3 separate regions of the Homo sapiens genome follow, and all the other regions are linked to region 1. Evidence: promoter capture Hi-C in 16 types of primary human blood cells and fetal thymus (Javierre and others, 2016). All regions are on one chromosome and are shown on one strand. The core of a region is centred on a gene start or on the middle of the fragment in contact, and the rest is flanking DNA. Distances in the headings are between cores, read along the strand shown. Region 1 holds the start of H2BC4 (H2B clustered histone 4). Region 2 has its middle 1.6 kb from the start of TRH-GTG1-5. Region 3 holds the start of H4C9 (H4 clustered histone 9).

Region 1 (3,232 bases), core at 342-2,841:
TATTTATTGTATATTCCCGGTTTTTAATGGAGAAAGCAAACTTCTAGGTGCTAAAAACGTGTTCTAGACTTGAATAAAAAGATAGGTAGACTACGTCTAACCCTTCATCTTAAAATCTTTACCTGGAAAAGACCATGAGTAAAATACTTAAGGGAATGTGGAATTTCCCAGGCCACAAAGCGGCCTGCAGTTGTCTAGGAAGGGAGAGTCCTCTAGGAGATACAGTGTATGTGCTAAGTTTAATGACGTCTCCTCTTCATTCTCCCCCACCCAGCGCCTAGTCCTTACTGGCCTTCAGTTCAGTGTTCGAAGGCTTGTCAATTTACCCAGCAGTTAAGAGTTGGCTTCTCCTAAAGCAACTTTCAAACTTGTCTGCATGTTACAAGCCCCCTACGGAGATTTTAAGTTTCAATCAGGCAACACACCATTTATGGCTGACTGAGCACTGGGATTCAAGCAAAATTTGATTTGATTTGAATCTTGAATAAACCAGTTGAATAGAATAAGATGTATGAAGCAACATCTGGCGCAGTGCTTACATCTTTAGTTCTGTACTGCCTTAGTGTTGTTATCAAAACTGACGCATATTAGGTTAAAAGACTATTACCGGGGCAGTTGGAAACCCAGGAGACACACCCTTCAGTATACTACGAAGGTGTGCGCCACGAAAACAGAGGGGGAGTCCTTCCTTAGGCAGTTACTGCCCAGGTTCCCACTCCGGTCCGCTATGTAAATCAGAGTCTCAAAACAGCTTTCCCTCGATTGGTTAATATTTAAAATGACAGGACAGCCTATTGGCTAGAAGCTGGTGGCGAAATTATGACATTACGGCAACCGTTGATCCTGGCGACGTAGACAGGGACAGACAGCTGGGTCTGAAACCTAAGCGAGCCTGCGGTTTCTTCCGGGAACGCCGAGTTAGCAAAATGGCCGCTTGTCTCCATTTTAAATTTAAGCACAACGAATTGACCCCAAAGCCATTTTTAATGGCTGGCTTCTTTCGGGTTCAGGACCCTTTGTCCCTCTCTAAGCTGCAACACTTGTCCCCACCCCTCTCCAGTTCCTATATTCTAATACCCCTCCGCCGCCAAATAAAATTTGGCGTCTGGCCACAGCTCTTTTAGTGGGTATCTGGGTGGCTCTTAAAAGAGCCTTTGGGGTTAGGTGTTAAGACGCTTACTTGGAATGTTTACTTGGAGCTGGTGTACTTGGTGACGGCCTTGGTGCCCTCCGACACGGCGTGCTTGGCCAGCTCTCCGGGAAGCAGCAGGCGCACGGCCGTCTGGATCTCCCTGGAGGTGATGGTCGAGCGCTTGTTGTAATGCGCCAGGCGGGAAGCCTCGCCCGCGATGCGCTCAAATATGTCGTTAACGAAAGAATTCATGATGCCCATGGCCTTGGAAGAGATGCCAGTGTCGGGATGGACCTGTTTCAGCACCTTGTACACGTACACAGAGTAACTCTCCTTGCGGCTGCGCTTGCGCTTCTTGCCATCTTTCTTCTGCGCTTTGGTCACTGCCTTCTTGGAGCCCTTCTTCGGGGCGGGAGCAGACTTGGCTGGCTCAGGCATCTTAAAACACCAGAAATGTGTCGAAAGTAAAGAGCGGATTTCTGCTACTTATAGGGCTTTTATGCTAATGAGGGATGGAGAGTACCTCTTAGTTAATTGGAAGACAAACTGCACAGTTGTCATCCGTGGGCAGAGCTATGCAAATGAGGTATGAAAGTACAGCTTTTCTATTGGCTATCTGACTAGCATTTGCTACCGACCAATCAAAAAGTCGGATTTACTCCCCAGGAACTACCTATAAAAGCGGCCATGTTTTACATATTTCTTGATTTTGTTTGTTTTCTCGTGAGCTTAGGCCGCTGGTTTTGGTGATTTTTGTCTGATTGCAATGTCTGGACGTGGTAAGCAAGGAGGCAAAGCTCGCGCCAAAGCGAAATCCCGCTCTTCTCGCGCTGGTCTCCAGTTCCCGGTGGGCCGAGTGCACCGCCTGCTCCGTAAAGGCAACTACGCAGAGCGGGTTGGGGCAGGCGCGCCGGTGTACCTGGCGGCGGTGTTAGAGTACCTGACCGCCGAGATCCTGGAGCTGGCCGGCAACGCGGCTCGCGACAACAAGAAGACTCGCATCATCCCGCGCCACTTGCAGCTGGCCATCCGCAACGACGAGGAGCTCAACAAACTGCTAGGCCGGGTGACCATTGCTCAGGGCGGCGTCCTTCCTAACATCCAGGCCGTGCTTCTGCCTAAGAAGACCGAGAGTCACCACAAGGCCAAGGGCAAGTGATTTGACAGGTATCTGAGCTCCCGGAAACGCTATCAAACCCAAAGGCTCTTTTCAGAGCCCCCCTACCGTTTCAAAGGAAGAGCTAACCTCACTGCTTGTAGGTAGAAGGAAAAAAGGCACTAAGGTAAGTTAATTTTATGCCAACCTTGAGCAAAGCGTATTACTGCTTTTCGGTTTTTGGGGAGCGCTGTTACTAAAGGTTGGTCTGTTTGTATGTAATAGTAGGTCAGTTACGTACTATCATACTCTAAAGAAATATTCTAGTTAATGCTTTGTAAGATCGACCATAGTTAGTGCCTAACAGTTTACATGCAGGGATGCCTCGTGATCTAAACACTTCGTTGTGATTACTTTAAAAATGTAAATTGAAGGCAAAACTCTAACGTGTTGGTAACCTTGTTTGGTCCTCCGACTAGTCCCCCGTCTATTTTTTTCTCAATTTAGGCTGTAGGCAGCCTCACTTTCCTAATTCTGTGAGAGTTATAGGTCCCATTCCTGCTAAAGTGCAGAGTATATTACCTAAAAGTTAACCAGGGAGTTGAAAGGTGTCTGTAAAACAGACTAATGTCCCTAATGTAGAACGGTGCCTGACATGCAACTTACTCTTGTATTTTAAGAAGCTCAAGCGTCTAGGTTGCCATTACAGGCAGAAAAGGAAATAGAGTGGGGCCTGTGGCCACTCAAAAACCTTTGCTTTCTGCTCACCCCTCTAATCCTACCACTTTGGGAGGCCGAGGGGGCTGATCACCTGAGGTCACGACTTCGACACTAACCTGGCCAACATGGTGAAACACCTCTCTACTAAATAAAAATAATAAATAAAAAAATAAGTTGGGCGTGGTGGCACATACCTTGTAATCCCAGCTACTCTTGAAGCTGACGCAGGAGAGTCGCTTGAGCCTGGGAGGCGGAGGTTGTAGTAAGCCGAGATCGTGCCACTG
Region 2 (3,232 bases), core at 489-2,988, 1.0 Mb after region 1:
ACTGAAAGACAGTACTATCAATAGCAGAAAGGAAAAGTGAAAGCAAGAGAACAATTCTTTCAGATGAAAGAAATAAAAGCAGCTTTGAATGCTGATGCGAAAGATCCTATAGAGATCAAATAGAATTTTATTTAATAATACAGGAGAAAGAGGAAAATATTGCTGGAACTATGCCCTTGAAAGAAAGAGGGCTTTTAATTATTTCTTACAGAAAATTTAGAAATTCAGAAGTAGAAGAGTGCATGGCATTGGTAAAGGTAGAACTGGTAGGTTCAACTGTGCCAGCCTGTCTCTTATTCTTCCCAGAATCACTGTAGTGAATGTGTCAGATGAAATCTTCAAAATGGCCTTCCAAAATAAGCACAAGGAAAGAGGCCTTTTTCTAGGCCTATGACATCAAAGATACAGCTTTTCCCTCTTTTTATGGAGAAGCACATGCAGATCAACCCAATTTCCAAAAACATCCCAGCAGAAAATGCTGAAAAGCACTTTCATTCACAGCAGCTTTCTAAATGGGGTTGGGGAAGGCCCTAAGCAAAGGAAAAGGAAAGATCTAACTCAAAGAGACTTGAGACAGAGGCAGCTTGCATTTCCTTCTTACTGGCTGCATTTTCTTTGATGGAGCTCATGTCTTTGAGACTGAGAAAGCCCTTAGGTCACTTCCCTGATCAAACAAATTAATGTTAGGGCTGGGTGCGGTGGCTCATGCCTGTAATCCCAGCACTTTGGGTGGCGGAGGTGGGCGGATCATAAGGTCAGGAGATCGAGATCATCCTGTCTGAAACAGTGAAAACCCGTCTCTACTAAAAATACAAAAAATTAGCCAGTCGTGGTGTCACGCGCCTGTAGTCCCAGCTGCTCAAGAGGCTGAGGCAGGAGAATCACTTGAACCCAGGAGGCGGAGGTTGCAGTGAGCCAAGATCGCACCACTGCCCTCCAGCCTGGGCGACAGAGCGAGACTCCATCTCAAAAAATAAAATAAAATAAAATAATAATAATAATAATAATAATAATAATAATAATAACAATGATGCTAGGAAACAGGTAATTCTTCATTCAGTAAACCTATTAGTAATTAGAATACTTTTGTGTAATCCAGACAGAGGAAAGGAGATAAAGAAAATTTTAGGAAATTAAGCACATTATTTTGGCTCTGCTGAGAAGCTTTATTATGGATAGCTGCAGGGGTAATTTTGAACTCCCTTCATTTTTAAATTTATTATTATTATTTTAGAGGGAGGATCTTGCTCTGTAGCCCAGGCTGCAGTGCAGAGGCACAATCATAGCTCACTGCAACCTCAAACTCCTGGATTCAAGTGATCCTCCTGCCTCAGCCTCCCTTGTAATGGGGACTACAGGCATGCACCTCTGTGCCTGGTTAAATTTTTTTATTTTTTTTGTAGAGACAGGGTCTCACTATGTTGCCCAAACTTGATTCAAATTCATGGCCTCAAGCAATACTCCTGTCTTGACCTCCCAACCTTTCTTTAAATTATTACCAATCTTTTCCCATCAAAGGTCAAAAGGCAAGCCTGCTGAACTAGGCCAGATGCTGCTGGGAGAAGTTGCTTTCATAGAGCTTTGGATGGTAGTCTCTGCCCACCCATTCATTCATTCTGCAGCCAAACTATATTGATAAAGAACCTACCAAATGGGGAGCCCTAGTGATAGATTATTGAACAAAATAGATATTCCTCGTCTTGGGGCATATGGAGCGGGAGGATGGAGGCTGACATTAATCAAATAACTCTGGTATTATACATTACAAACTGATATAAGAGCACTAAAGGAAAAGTGAAAAAGAATCAAGTGGCCGGGCATGATGGCTCACGCCTGTAATCCCAGCACTTTGGGAGCCCGAGGCGGGTGGATCACTTGAAGTCAGGAGTTATAGATCAGCCTGGCCAACATGGTGAAACCCCCTCTCTAATAAAAATACAAAAATTAGCCCTGCGTAGTAGCTTACGCCTGTAATCCCAGCTACTCGGGAGGCTGAGGCAGGAGAATCGCTTGAACCCGGGAGGTGGAGGTTGCAATGAGTCGAGATTGTGTCATTGCCCTCCAGCCTGGGCAACAGAGCGAGACTCTGAGAAAAAAAAAAAGAAGAAGAAAGAGAAAGAAAGAAAGAAAAGGAAGGAAGGAAGAAAGAGAATGAGAGAGAGAGAAAGAAAGAAGGAAGGAAAGAAGAAAAGAAAAGAAAGAGAGAGGGAAGGAGGGAGGGAGAGAGGAAGGAAGGAAGGAGGGAAAGAAGGGAGGGAAGGAAAAAAAAAAAACCAAGGAACCATGTGTTGCGTGGAGACGGGAGGTCAAGAAAAGCTTCCTTGATTTGAAAAGCTTTCTTGAGTTGAAGCTGAAGCATTAAACAAATTTAACCAGGTAAAGAGAAGAGGCCGGGCGCGGTGGCTCACTCCTGTAATCCTAGCGCTTTGGGAAGCCGAGAGGGGCGGATCAGTTGAGTTCAGGAGTTTAAGACCAGAATGATTTTACAGAAAGAAAATCATTTGGTATCAAGGGGAAAACACGACCAGGACCTTGACTCTAGAGGCTACGTTCCTAAAACAGCAAGCGGGGCAGGAGGGAAGTCCCACGGAGCTTTGGAGCCACAGGAGAGGCACTTTTATCTCCCTCTTCTGGCAAACTAGGTATGAAAGGGAGAAAGAAATTTCACTCTGAGGTGCGAGCGCCGCCGGACATTTCCTGACGGCTCAGGTGGGCAGGCTGAGTGCGCGAGCGCCTCACTGGCTTCTCATAGGTACCTGGGTCAGGACGAAGCCACATAGTTCCTCGTGATGAGAAACTCACTTCTGGCACCTGTCGAGATGCCAGATTCCATGCCAAGCCCCCGAAGATTCTGACTAGTTTGGCAAAAAATGGGATCTGGCAGGTCCACTTCAAAGCAGCGCCCTCTTCCTTTTGTTGCCAAAGATCTGAGGACCACACTGCTAAACTGAGCAAGAAACATGCGTGGGTTGGAGATAGAAGTGAGAATAATGAGTTTACAAGCACAGTATTACCAACCCCCAAAAACAACCACCACGCTGGGAAAATTCCATATAATGAAACTTAATGTGTTACCTTTGGCTTCTTTGCCATAAGCAAAATATTGGGGACGGGGAGTGGATAAGGAAGTAAACTGGGTAGGTGTGTAAATAAGGACGAAAGACTGCACCATTCTTTAGATGACAAAAACAGACGTTTCTGGGAAATAAGCAAAGGAAGAGCCCCACAAGCA
Region 3 (3,232 bases), core at 496-2,995, 1.0 Mb after region 1:
TATAAATTTTATGTGGCATGGGACATGGGAGCTCTAATAATAGACCCCAAAGAAGTAGCAAAACCTAAATGCTTTTATAGTAGGTTGAATGGAGTAAATTGTGGAAATGTAACTATGTAGGAAGGCTAAAGGAAAACAAGAATTATTTTAAGATCTGCTTGGACAGAATTCTCTTGGTTTCAACTTCCTGTCCTTGATGAAAATGTTCTTTTCCTTTTGGTACAGGGAGGACATCTTCCACAGGGGAATTTTAATTCCTGCTTTTAAGGGGGTAAAAGGGAACGGTCAAAGTGCCTTTCTTGTACCTACTCTTTTTAAAATTGCCTGTATCTCAGAATAATTCTTATTCCAAAATGGCATATTTTGGGATGGCATGCTCTGCCACCTTTTACCATTCATTGCTATCCTTGTCACTAATTGCTATGCGAAAACTCATGAAATCAGATACAGAAAAAGGCTTCTGATTAGTGAGAAGCTCAAGTAGAGAAATATACTTGTTAACTAATGTTGGGGAAATACAATTTTAAAATCTTCTCCCAAAGAAGACAAAGGAAATAATTTTATTATTGAATAAGCATTAAACCAGGGAGAGTTGCTTATCACAGGAAACCTTATGAAGAGGTTGCAAAAGCAGAAAGAAATCTTGCTTATTATGTATGGCTACATTGGATAGGTTTTGCAATTCGAAGTCAGGTGACAGCTAAAGTTCAGCCCATTTTCTCGCTGGAAACTGGGAGACAGACCACTATCTTTTTTAATGATTAACATTTCAAAGGGATGGCTCTCCAGGCATTGAGAAAATATTCTGAGTTATAAGGCCTATTTAGCCATTAAAAGGATTTACATACATTTTAAAAGGACAGAGAAAGACATTTTGAAAGTGATGGGAAAGGAAAGGGAAGTCTTTTGTTTTCAACAGATAATTAAGCCTCTCATTTTTAATTTGTATTTACCCTTAGATTAACGTATTCAATTAACCTATGCTACCTTACCCTCTTTACAACATATACTGAATTCAGCTACAGCAAGTTACAGCCAGTCATATCAATTTTTTTTTGTTTTCCAAAGGTGTATGGCAAGTTTTCTTTTATTGCAACATAAATGCAAAAATTTCTAAAGTATTTTAATGAAAAGTTTATCTTCATTTACTTTATGACATTTAAGTGGAATACTTTGAAAATACTTCAAGCACTGCTGTAAGGTACTCATTAAAATAAAGAGTAGCAAGAAAATCACCAAATGGGCCGGGTGCGGTGGCTCATATATTCAGTATATGATAATAAGTTCCTCAAATCAGTGGGGGAAATAGTTAATGTATTGTGCTGACTAACCAACTGATTAACTTTTTGAAAAGTTATTTCTATATACAAGAAATCAAGTCCTTATTAGTAAAGTTAGATTACTTTAAATGGTTCTACCCAGCATTAGTTAAGGTTGTAGGCATATCAGGAACTGCTACTGGTGCAGGGGCCAAGAGAAAACCTCCCTTTTGGCCTCTGAAAGTTCACTGAAAATCAACTGACAAGATTAATAAGAGAAAAGGCATACAAATTTATTAAGGTACAGGGCTGAGGACCACAGAATATTACCCCAACCCCCCAGTGGGGTACAGAAGCTTATATACTCTTTCTCAGAGGCAAAAGAGGAGATGGGTAATGTAGACAATTCTTTGAGGAACAGTAAATGATTATTAGAGAGAAGGAATGGACCAAGGAGACAGAAATTAACTTGTAAATGATTCTCTTTGGAATCTGAATGAGATCAAGAGGCCAGCTTTAGCTTGTGGAAAAGTCCATCTAGGTATGGTTGCATTCTCGTCTTCTTTTCTGCAGTAGATAATGAGGTAACCGAAGGCAATTGTGCTTCTTTTGATAAGAAGCTTTCTTGGTCATATCAGGAAATTCCAGAGAAAGTCCCTCCCTGTATTTGGGGAAGAGAAACAGGACAAAGTTAGAGGGACCTTGATTCTTAGACTTGTTTCTGAGAACCCTCAATTTTCAAAAACACCCACCATTACCAAGCTCGATATTTGGGGGGATAATTCTCCACCCCAAACACTAGAAATGAAAATAAGTAGAAAAGAACTTAGCAATATACCTGAACGATCTTTAAATTCTATGAGTCTATCTTGTTCTATTGCTAGGAATTTAGCATATGGAGTATATTTCCATTGTATATTAAGGAGAAAAATGCCACAAAATAGCATAGTTCCATACAAATAATGTTAAAGGAAAACATGCATATATGCAGAGATAACATTCTTTTTGCTTTATGTATCTTCTATAATGTTAACATTTTTGTTATGAGGCAGGAATCATGTTAAATGAAAAAAGGAAAAACAGCCTAGGTCTTGAGGATTAAAAAGGACTGAAGGAGAACAAGAGGGAGTAGAGCACAGCAGGCCTGTTTCCCTTTTAGGTCCCCTCCCCCAATGCAGAGGGACTTCCCGCCAAAGCTCTTCCGGTTTTCAGTCTGGTCCGCAGAGGTTACCCATAAAAGAAAGCTGCCATCACAGGCAGCAGACCTTTGTTCTCTGACCACTTGATAATGTCAGGACGCGGCAAAGGAGGTAAGGGCCTGGGGAAAGGGGGTGCCAAGCGCCACCGCAAGGTGCTGCGCGACAACATCCAGGGTATCACCAAGCCAGCCATTCGGCGCCTTGCTCGCCGCGGCGGCGTGAAGCGCATTTCTGGCCTCATCTATGAGGAGACCCGCGGAGTGTTGAAGGTGTTCCTGGAGAACGTGATCCGGGACGCCGTGACCTACACGGAGCACGCCAAGCGCAAGACGGTCACCGCCATGGACGTGGTCTACGCGCTCAAGCGCCAGGGCCGCACCCTCTATGGCTTCGGCGGCTAAATGGCATTTTGAAGCCCAGTCATTCTCTAAAAAGGCCCTTTTTAGGGCCCCTAAGCTTTCAACAAAAGAGTTGAAATGACTGCAAACTGAGTCTCTTAATAGGGCCATTGTCAGTGAGTTCTGTCATCCTATTTTACAAGATTAACTCGACGCCGAAAATGGGCTGATGACTACAGGTGACCTTGGGCCGAGATTTTTCCAAGGCCAGAAGAGCCTCTGCTGGCCAGTAACTTCTGGCGGCTGCCTGGAAATTGCCTGCAGCCGGTTTACCGCTCGGATTAGTTTAGAAAGCCAAGGGGTCTGCGGTCCAAATAGGGGCGGGCTAGATAATTAACTTCCCTCTGGACCTTCAAATACGTCTCAGGAGATAATG

The links. Contacts are between HindIII fragments. The CHiCAGO score rates a contact against its expected background, and 5 or more counts as called.
Region 2: a contact is called between a fragment that was not itself captured here and the fragment with the promoter of H2BC4 in region 1, in 6 of 17 cell types (total CD4 T cells, non-activated CD4 T cells, total B cells and 3 more). The highest score is 9.4, in total CD4 T cells.
Region 3: a fragment that was not itself captured here is called in contact with the fragment with the promoter of H2BC4 in region 1 in 2 of 17 cell types (total CD4 T cells and monocytes); the score reaches 6.0 in total CD4 T cells.

What each region holds. Positions count from the first base shown.
Region 1 is chr6:26,122,335-26,125,566 of GRCh38, forward strand. It overlaps H2BC4 (H2B clustered histone 4), which reads right to left and starts at 1,592. Exons shown (of 1, transcript NM_003526.3): 1 at 1,133-1,592. The coding sequence starts at 1,570. The coding sequence ends at 1,190. H2AC6 (H2A clustered histone 6) reads left to right here and starts at 1,838. Exons shown (of 1, transcript NM_003512.4): 1 at 1,838-2,356. The coding sequence starts at 1,899. The coding sequence ends at 2,291. RefSeq lists enhancers at 1-383, 384-1,069, 517-1,716, 765-1,504, 1,748-2,947 and 4 more and a silencer at 1,376-1,741. The HindIII fragment of the contact is 15,442 bases long and covers 1-3,232 here.
Region 2 is chr6:27,154,878-27,158,109 of GRCh38, forward strand. No RefSeq gene overlaps it. Among named protein-coding and RNA genes, the nearest start is that of TRH-GTG1-5, 1.6 kb to the right of the region's middle. The HindIII fragment of the contact is 1,152 bases long and covers 1,163-2,314 here.
Region 3 is chr6:27,136,762-27,139,993 of GRCh38, forward strand. H4C9 (H4 clustered histone 9) reads left to right here and starts at 2,521. Exons shown (of 1, transcript NM_003495.3): 1 at 2,521-2,917. The coding sequence starts at 2,548. The coding sequence ends at 2,859. It also overlaps a transcript of H2BC12 not described here. RefSeq lists enhancers at 2,335-2,714, 2,477-3,069, 3,070-3,232. The HindIII fragment of the contact is 264 bases long and covers 1,614-1,877 here.